Regions from separate parts of the Homo sapiens genome. Here all the other regions are linked to region 2. Evidence: promoter capture Hi-C in 16 types of primary human blood cells and fetal thymus (Javierre and others, 2016). All regions are on one chromosome and are shown on one strand. The core of a region is centred on a gene start or on the middle of the fragment in contact, and the rest is flanking DNA. Distances in the headings are between cores, read along the strand shown. Region 1 holds the start of KRT24 (keratin 24). Region 2 holds the start of KRTAP29-1 (keratin associated like protein 29-1). Region 3 has its middle 13 kb from the start of KRT25.

Region 1 (2,723 bases), core at 77-2,576, 600 kb before region 2:
GCTGGTATATTTAGGACTACATCTTTCTGCAAAAAGATAACAGTCTGCACATTTATTGGACTAGGCACAGGAACCTGTTTTACAGGACATAGTCCTCTGCATATTTCTGCTACTTTGTTAGATCATTATCTCATGAGCTTTTTCAGAAAATAGTGCAAAAATTGTATTTCACTTCCAAAAAAGTCTTTAAAAATATATTTCCCATACAAAAGTGGCTAAACATTTTAGATTCTACTACATTCTTATGTAATGTTTGCACCAGATTTTCTGGGAAGAAAAATAATACTAAAGAATATTTAAATCTTGTAAGACAATAAAATGTGTCAGTCTGTCAGAATTCATCATAAATAATTAGATTAAACTAATGTTGACTCACTGCCACCATTCTTATATATAAATGATAATTAGCTGCCTGGTGTTGTATAAGTTTTACTGTTATGTAGAAATACTGAAACTGAGATGGAAACAGAAAATTAATGTGATTGGACATCACATAAGGTACTATAATAATTAAGACACATCAGGTCCCACTTTGCATATGTAACAAGCAAATATGTTTTCAAATAATTTCTTAAAATTTTCATTATAGTACATGATCTGAAAAGAAGTGAAAGATCCACAAATAATAGAAACTCAGGCACAGATAGTCTCACCTGGTTTCTGAGATCTTCAATTATTGAATAGTATTTGCTATAATCTCTTCCCGATCCACCGTCTCCAGACCCAGGCCCATATTTGTCATACCACTCCTTGATTTTGTTCTCCAGATCAGTGTTAGCCTCCTCCAGGGCTCTGACCTTGTCTAGGTAATTGGCCAAGCGGTCATTGAGGTTCTGCATGGTTTGCTTTTCCCCTCCAGAGAAAAGCCCCCCATCGCCAACACCACCTCCCATACCACCACCATAGCTGTAGAAGCCTCCAGTAGCACCACTGCTGAATCTAGAACTCCCACAGAATCCAGAACCCCTGCCAAATCCAGAGACCCCGCCAAAGCTAGAACCCCCACCAAATCCTGTCCCAGAGCCTGAAGCTCCCCCAAAACCACCCCCTACTGAGCAGCTACCAAAGCCCCCTCCAAAGCTGCCCCCAAAAGCACCGCTAGACCCCCCACTCAGGCTGCAGCTGCTGGCTCCTCCTCGGAAGCCCTGGGCCGAGCTGCCCCCCAGACCACATCTGCTTCCACTGCTGAAGCTGCTTCCACCAGCAGACACCCTGGCTGAGCTGCTGCCTCCAGCCCTGGAGGAGGAGGCGCGAGACGAGCAAGACATGGTGCTCCTGCAAACATGAGCTTGTCCAGGCGAATAGGAGAGGTGATGACGAAGAGTGTATTCAAGGCTGCCTTTTTGGCCTTTATATACACACTTCGAGGGTGTTCCTTTTCTCTGTCACTTCTTAATCCCTGTTACAGTTTTGGTAATCCGTAATTGGATAATTTCTGTTTCTTGAACACTTCTCTGAAGCTAGGTCAGAGCCCTGGGACATTTACTATATCAATAAAAAAAGAATAAAGTGGAGCAAAACAAAAAAATTTTCAGAATTACAGTTTTAATCTTTCAGAGGTTTTGATGATTGGTAACTTTTCTCTGGAAGTGTAGTTCTATTAAATTTGCTTCATGATTTCACATTTGCAGAGAATATCTCCAGGTTAACAAATGTAATTAAAATACTTAATATGATGAGAATAAAAATTTCCCATCAATCATGTAACTTTTTTGTTCATATTGTTCTCAAAAGTTGAAATTAGCTTTCACATCAGCAATAATTTCAGATTTGATTAAGCATCCATCTCTTTGATTATTTCAATCAGCGTGTTTTTTAAGGTTGTTGAAGTTTGTGATTTTAAGTTATTGCTTTCTTTTTTTGTATTTTGTATAATATACAAAAAAGCATATAATTTGTAACAATTATGTTTTATAGTTCATAAGAAAAACATAAATAATAGTTTTCTAGGTAAGTATTATTACATCTCAGCAACATGTTTATTCAAGTAGCTAATGTCTAAGAAAGATTGAAAAGCTTTTAGGCAGATTGTTTTAATACGATTTTCTTTCTGGTTGAATTCTAGTCTGATATAAAGACAGCAACTTCCTTTTTGAGTCAAATTTCAAGAAATGAAGAGATGATGCAGATATCTCCTGCCTTCGTTTTAAAGATAAAAGAGGATTTGTATCTACTTCTGATAACTAGTGTTACAATTGGAGTTATTTTATAGATTCTGAACCCTCCTGAGCTCCCTTTGTGCTTCATGGCTTTTTGTCCCTTTGTATTTTAGACTGTTTCCATTCATGTCTTCTAGTCACTTCACCGGTTTAATAGTGTCTTTTTGAAAGACAGATACTGTATAATTCCAGTACTATGAGGTGCCTAGAGTAGTCAAATTCACAGAGACAGAAAGTAGAATGGTAGTTGCCAGTGGCCGAAGGGTTGGGGATAGACAGTTGTTGCTTACTGGGCATAGAATTTTAATTTTGCAATATGAAAAGAGTTTGGGGCCAGGCGTGGTGGCTCACACCTGTAATCCCAGCTCTTTGGGAGGCCGAGGCAGGTGGATCACCTGAGGTCAGGAGTTCGAGACCAGCCTGGCCAAGATGGTGAAATCCCGTCTCTACTAAAAATACAAAAAATTAGCCAGGCATGGTGGCAGGCGCCTGAAATCCTAGCTACTTGGGAGGCTGAGGCAGAGAATTGCTTGAACCCGGGAGGCAGAGGTTGCAGTGAGCCAA
Region 2 (2,700 bases), core at 121-2,620:
CATTTTTATTAGCAGCTGGCAGCAACGAGGTCTTCTGAAAGACCAGGCAGCATCAAGAAAGAGAAACAAGAGAGGGTTTGCTAAAGTGAAATGAATTGACATCATCAGGAAATGCAAGCAGCAGTGTGGTAGTCCATGGTTGCTGAAAGGTTATTCTCGGTTAAGAAGGATCTCTTCGTGCCTGGACAAGTTCCCTGGTCAGCACCTGGAGAGAATGTGAAGGTGGAATCAGGGTAAAGTTAGAAAGCAGGCAGCATTTGTACTCGGTGGGAGGCAGGCACCCAGGGATGGCTATGCATTTATAGACAGCCGCAGACCCTCAGAGGAGGTGTGAAGAGGGCTCCATTAACAAAGTGTTGCCTTGCAGAAGCTGGACTCACAGCTGGGTTGGCATGAAGTCGGCAAGCAATTGGAGCCACTACTGGGTGATGTGCCTAAACCAGTCACACAGCAAGCTGATTTGCAGCCACTCTGGTTATAGGAAGGGGGTCCATCACAAGTTGGTTGGCCAGAAATCACAGTGTCACAAGAAGCTGGTTTGCAACAGTTCTTTGTGGAACAAGGGGCCTGGCAGTTAGCCACTGGCTGGTAGATGAAGCATGTGGAAGGAACCAGTTGGCAGTGAGGTGGCTGGCAATGGGAAGGCACACAGCAAGTAGTATTGCAAGAACTGAACACACAAGTCGATGGCTGGCAGGGAACAGGCATGTAGAGGGCTGATTGGCAAGGCTTGAAAATATAGCAGATGGGTTGATAATAAGTTGATTTACAGGGCTGGCCTTCACCACTGACGGGTTGACATGAACTTCCTTGGCACCAAGTTGGTTGGCATGGACTAGCTGTACAGATGGTTGGTAGGCAAGAAGTTTCCGGACAGGAGGTCACTTCAGAGCAGGATGGCTGGCAGGATCCAGCATCACAGCAGACTGATTGGCCACAAGCTGCCTGACATGATCCAGACATGCAGACAGATTCCTGGCAGGAGCTTTGCTGGCAGGGACTGGCATCGCAGCACTTTTCCTGACAACAAGTAGATTCCGAGCAGGATGGCTGACATGAGCTAACCAGACAAGGAGACTGACCAGTGCCAGACTGATAGCAGGCTGCGTGGGAGCACATAGGTTGGCAAACAAAACCCACACAAGACGTTGCTGGAAGGCGGGTAGGTTGACACGAAGCAGGATCACAGCCACTTGGGGCACCAATGGATGGCTGACAGCTTTCTTGGCATGTGACCAGTTGCCACATTCTGCTGTGGCAGGAACTAGGCAAACAGAGAGCATGTCGAAATCCACCTTTAACTGGGTATGTGGTGATGGTGGGCACAGCTGGAATGGCTGTGGTGTTTCCAGGACAACAGCCGTCTGCCATGGTGCTGGTGCTGACCTTGCTGGGAAGTTGCAAGCTCAGTATACCTGCATTGGAAAGACATCCGATACAGAGGGGCTTTTATAGTCCTTCACTAGGGGTGTTGGCACGCCATGCAGCATCTTTCCTTGTTATTGTTTTTACTCATTTGCATGCAAACATCTGATTAGCAGGCTTCAGGAGCCTGGGAGATGTTTCAACTTTGAAAAGGTGTCTGTTGAGTCGGGAGTTTTCTGCGCTGCATTTGGATTCGTTGACACTGCTCCTGCTCTTGGATGAGCTGTCTCTTTTACAGGTTGCTCTCCAGCCTCACTGAAGCAGGCCTTTCCTGGCACTAACCTTTCATCAGGAGGCCTCTGCCAAGCCAGAGTGGCCCTGCTGTTCCTCCAGGAATGCAGCTTTGCACCATTCAATCAGAAATGAAGCCTTGACCCAGTTTGGGGAGAGGATGTCAAGACGGGAAATGGAAAATTAGTCCAAGGAACCCAGGGACACTTAAGTGCCTCTACCTCTTTTTAAAACCTTCCCATTTATCATTCCTGAAACTTGTTTACTAGTACTATTACTAATAATAACAATAGAAATGGCTTTCATTTATTGCATAGTTACTAGATCAAGTCCTTGGCTGCATTTTTCACTGGATCCTCACAATGACTTCAGTAAGTATAATTGTCATCACTATGTTAGAAGTGGCAAAACTAAAAAAAAGTAATAAATAAAGAAGAAACCAGGTTTAAAACAAAGTTAAGATTAAAATATAAAACTTCATTGGCCCTTTTAGGAAGCTTAAAATCTCCCCCAAATTGGTTCCTCTCAAGATTTTTTTAGAACAGAAAAGAAGAAAACAGAAGTGGCAAAACTCATAGAGTTTAAATCATGTTCCCAAAATTATGCAAATGAAAAGGGGTAGAAACAAAATTCAAACCTAGCTTTGTCTGACCACCAAACCCCTGATCTTAACCACCTATTAGACCCCCTGACTTTGGGGAGGCAGGGAGAAGGCGACACTGATATAGTGGCTGCAGGCTGACACCCCTATGGCAACAGACTGGCTCGTGAGCAGGTTGCCCAGGCCCCATCCTGGGGATCCTCCGCCCACTCCAGTGACTGTAATCAGCAGCTAGACCACACTGGTGTGAGTACTTACCTCTACTTATCAATACACTCAAACACAGTCTTTTAATTTTGGAAATTTTTTAAACTACCAAATATTTCATCAGGAAGTATCAAACCCACCCTAGGGCATCAATAGCATATGAATTCTATACAAATAAAAACACGCCAGCAGTGATAATAAAAAAAATCACTGTAAAGTGGTGTTAATGTTAAACC
Region 3 (2,700 bases), core at 160-2,659, 560 kb before region 2:
AGTAAAACATACCTGTATCTTAGAGACCCTGCTGTTTCTCCCCAGTGATATCTCCCCTATTACTGCTCAGGTGTCATCACTATCCTGAGTTTTCTTTATTACTTGCTGTGAAATAATAAGAAATATATAGTTGGCCTTTGTCTCTATTTCCTGGCACACAGCTTCTAAAATCCTTGTAATTTCCTCAGTGATAGAAGCATCTTTTCTTGTCCTGACCCAGAGCTCCTAAATCCTTTGAAATTTCTTGTGTGATAGGAGCATCTTTGGTTCTAATGAGGTGACTCTTGGTGGGCCGCTAAGTAGCTTTAGGATGGGGGCTGGCTGCCAGAAAGACCAAACCTTGATGAGAAGCCTAGACATTTCAGCCCTAACCCTTCCCCACCCTCCAGAGAGGGGACAGAGGCTGGAGACTGAGTTAATAATCGATCATGCTTACATGATGAAACCTCAATAAAAGCTTCTAAATGAGGGGGTTCAGAGAGTTTCTGGATTGGTGAACACATCAAGGTGCTGGGAGGTGGCCCACCCGGACAGGGCATGGAAGCTCCGTGTTCCTCGCCCCTGACCTTGCCCCGGGCATCTCTTGTATTCAGCTGTTGCTGAGTTGTATCCTTTATAGTAAACCCACAATAATAAGTAAAGCACTTACCTGAGTTCTGTGAGTCATTCTAGAGAATTATTGAACTTTGCGGAGGGGGAGGTTGTGAGAACCCTGAATTTGTAGCCATGTCAGACAGAAGTGTGGGTAACCTGCGGGCCTGATACTTGTGGCTGGTATCTGATGTGAGGACAGTCTTGTGGGACTGAGCCTTTAGACACGTGGAGTCTGACACTAACTCCAGGGTGTTAGTGTTAGAATTGAATTGAATTGTAGGACACTGAGTTGGTGTCAGAAGGGAAGAAAACCTTTCACCTGCCTTTAAAAAAGGTTTTGCTATCTACATATGCACCTCTAAACAATATCTTGTTTAGTTTTTCTATTTGGAACTTTATACAATGGAATCCGCCTTATGCACTCTGCTGGGACTTGCTTCCTTCATTTGGCTTTATGATTCTGTAACTCATCATTGTTGATGTGTGCGGCAGTTGTAGGTTGATTCTCTGGGAAGCAGAGTCAGAGCTGAGTTCAGTGTGCAGGGTGCTTATTAAAGATTGCCCTGGGATCAATACCTGTGGAAGGGGAGAAGAAAGCAGGATTGGGCACAGGTAGAAAGTGAGCTTCCATGAGGAGCTCTGGAGCTCAGTATTGTCCTGAGTGGGGCCAAGATGGCCAAGCCTTTATACTTCTGTATCAATTATTCATTGGATGTAGGGTGTGAACTCAGGTGAGGTGACACTGCAGCTGAAGCAACCCCTGAGGGGCTGATGGCTGAGGACTGCCTGCTGCCAATACCTATGCAGCTGGGATGAAAAGCTCTCCATTGGAAGCCTGCTGGATCTGGGTAGCCAGTGGGATCACAGCATCACCACAGGGGTTTATAGTCCATTATTTTCCACTGTTGGATAGCATTTTTTGTTATAGACTTCACTTTATTTATCCATCCTACCATTGATGGCTAGTATTTGGATTGTTCCTAGTTTTTAACTACTATGAACAATGTTGCATGAACATTCTTGGACATGTCTCCTGGTGCACCTGTGTAAGGGTCTTTCCAAGTTTTAGACCTCCTTAATCTGTTTGGTCTACTGTAACAAAATGCCATACACTAGGTGGCTTATAAACAACAGAGATTTATTTCCCACAGTTCTGGGGGTTGGGAAGTTCAAGATCAAAGTGCTGGCCACTTTGATGTCTGATCAGAGTCCACTTCCTTGTTCATAGATGTCACCTTCTGTGCCATGTAACACTGTGTCCTCACAAGGTGGAAGGGCAAGGGAGTTCTCTGGGTCTCTTTATTAAGGGTACCATTCTCAATCATGAGGCCTCCACCCTTATGACCTAATCACTTCCCAAAGACCCCACCTCCTCATACCATCACCTAGGCTTCCACATAGAAATTTTGGAAGATTGTAAATATTCAACCCACTGCATAGAATATGCATATATCCAAGTTGATTAGGTGAAACCGAATTTTCGAAGTTCAGAGTTACAACCTCACAAAAGTATGAGTTTCTGTTGCTCCACATACTCATATATATTTGATACAGGAAGACTTTTTGATACTTGACAAGTTGGGAAGTGTGAAATGGAAGCTAACTGTGATTTTTAATGTGCATTTCTCTGGTTACTAATAAGATTGAGTATATTTCATGTTTATTGAATGTATGGATTTCCTCTTCAGTGAGGAGCTTGTTCAAATTTTTGTGCCATTTTTAATAGGGCTGTCTCTTTTTATCCTTTATCCTCTTTTATGCTTCTCTTAAGCTTATCTATGTGTCTATCCATCTATCTACTTACCTACTTACCTACCTAATTTTTTCTCTCTGTGCTGAAGTCTGGATAATTCCCTCATTCTACTTTTCAGTTTACTAATTCTTTCTCCCACTGTGTCTAATCTACTATTGGATCTAAACATTGATATTTTAAATGTTATTTCTTACCTATATCTAGAAGTTTATATTTGGTTCTTTTCAAATATCCTTAGTCATTCTTCATAGTGTTTTGGATTCTGCTTATATTTTCAAAGTTTTAGTTTTAAAAGTATATTGATCATTTTTTATGCTCTATATTTTAAAATTGTTTCTATTGGCTCTTGCTCA

The links. Contacts are between HindIII fragments. The CHiCAGO score rates a contact against its expected background, and 5 or more counts as called.
Region 1: a contact is called between the fragment with the promoter of KRT24 here and the fragment with the promoter of KRTAP29-1 in region 2, in 1 of 17 cell types (erythroblasts). The highest score is 5.7, in erythroblasts.
Region 3: a contact is called between a fragment that was not itself captured here and the fragment with the promoter of KRTAP29-1 in region 2, in 1 of 17 cell types (endothelial precursors). The highest score is 5.2, in endothelial precursors.

The regions. Positions count from the first base shown.
Region 1 is chr17:40,702,426-40,705,148 of GRCh38, forward strand. KRT24 (keratin 24) reads right to left here and starts at 1,327. Exons shown (of 8, transcript NM_019016.3): 1 at 654-1,327. The coding sequence starts at 1,268. The HindIII fragment of the contact is 6,314 bases long and covers 1-2,014 here.
Region 2 is chr17:41,301,481-41,304,180 of GRCh38, forward strand. KRTAP29-1 (keratin associated like protein 29-1) reads right to left here and starts at 1,371. Exons shown (of 1, transcript NM_001257309.1): 1 at 346-1,371. The coding sequence starts at 1,371. The coding sequence ends at 346. The HindIII fragment of the contact is 6,603 bases long and covers 1-2,151 here.
Region 3 is chr17:40,740,587-40,743,286 of GRCh38, forward strand. No RefSeq gene overlaps it. Among named protein-coding and RNA genes, the nearest start is that of KRT25, 13 kb to the right of the region's middle. The HindIII fragment of the contact is 1,908 bases long and covers 456-2,363 here.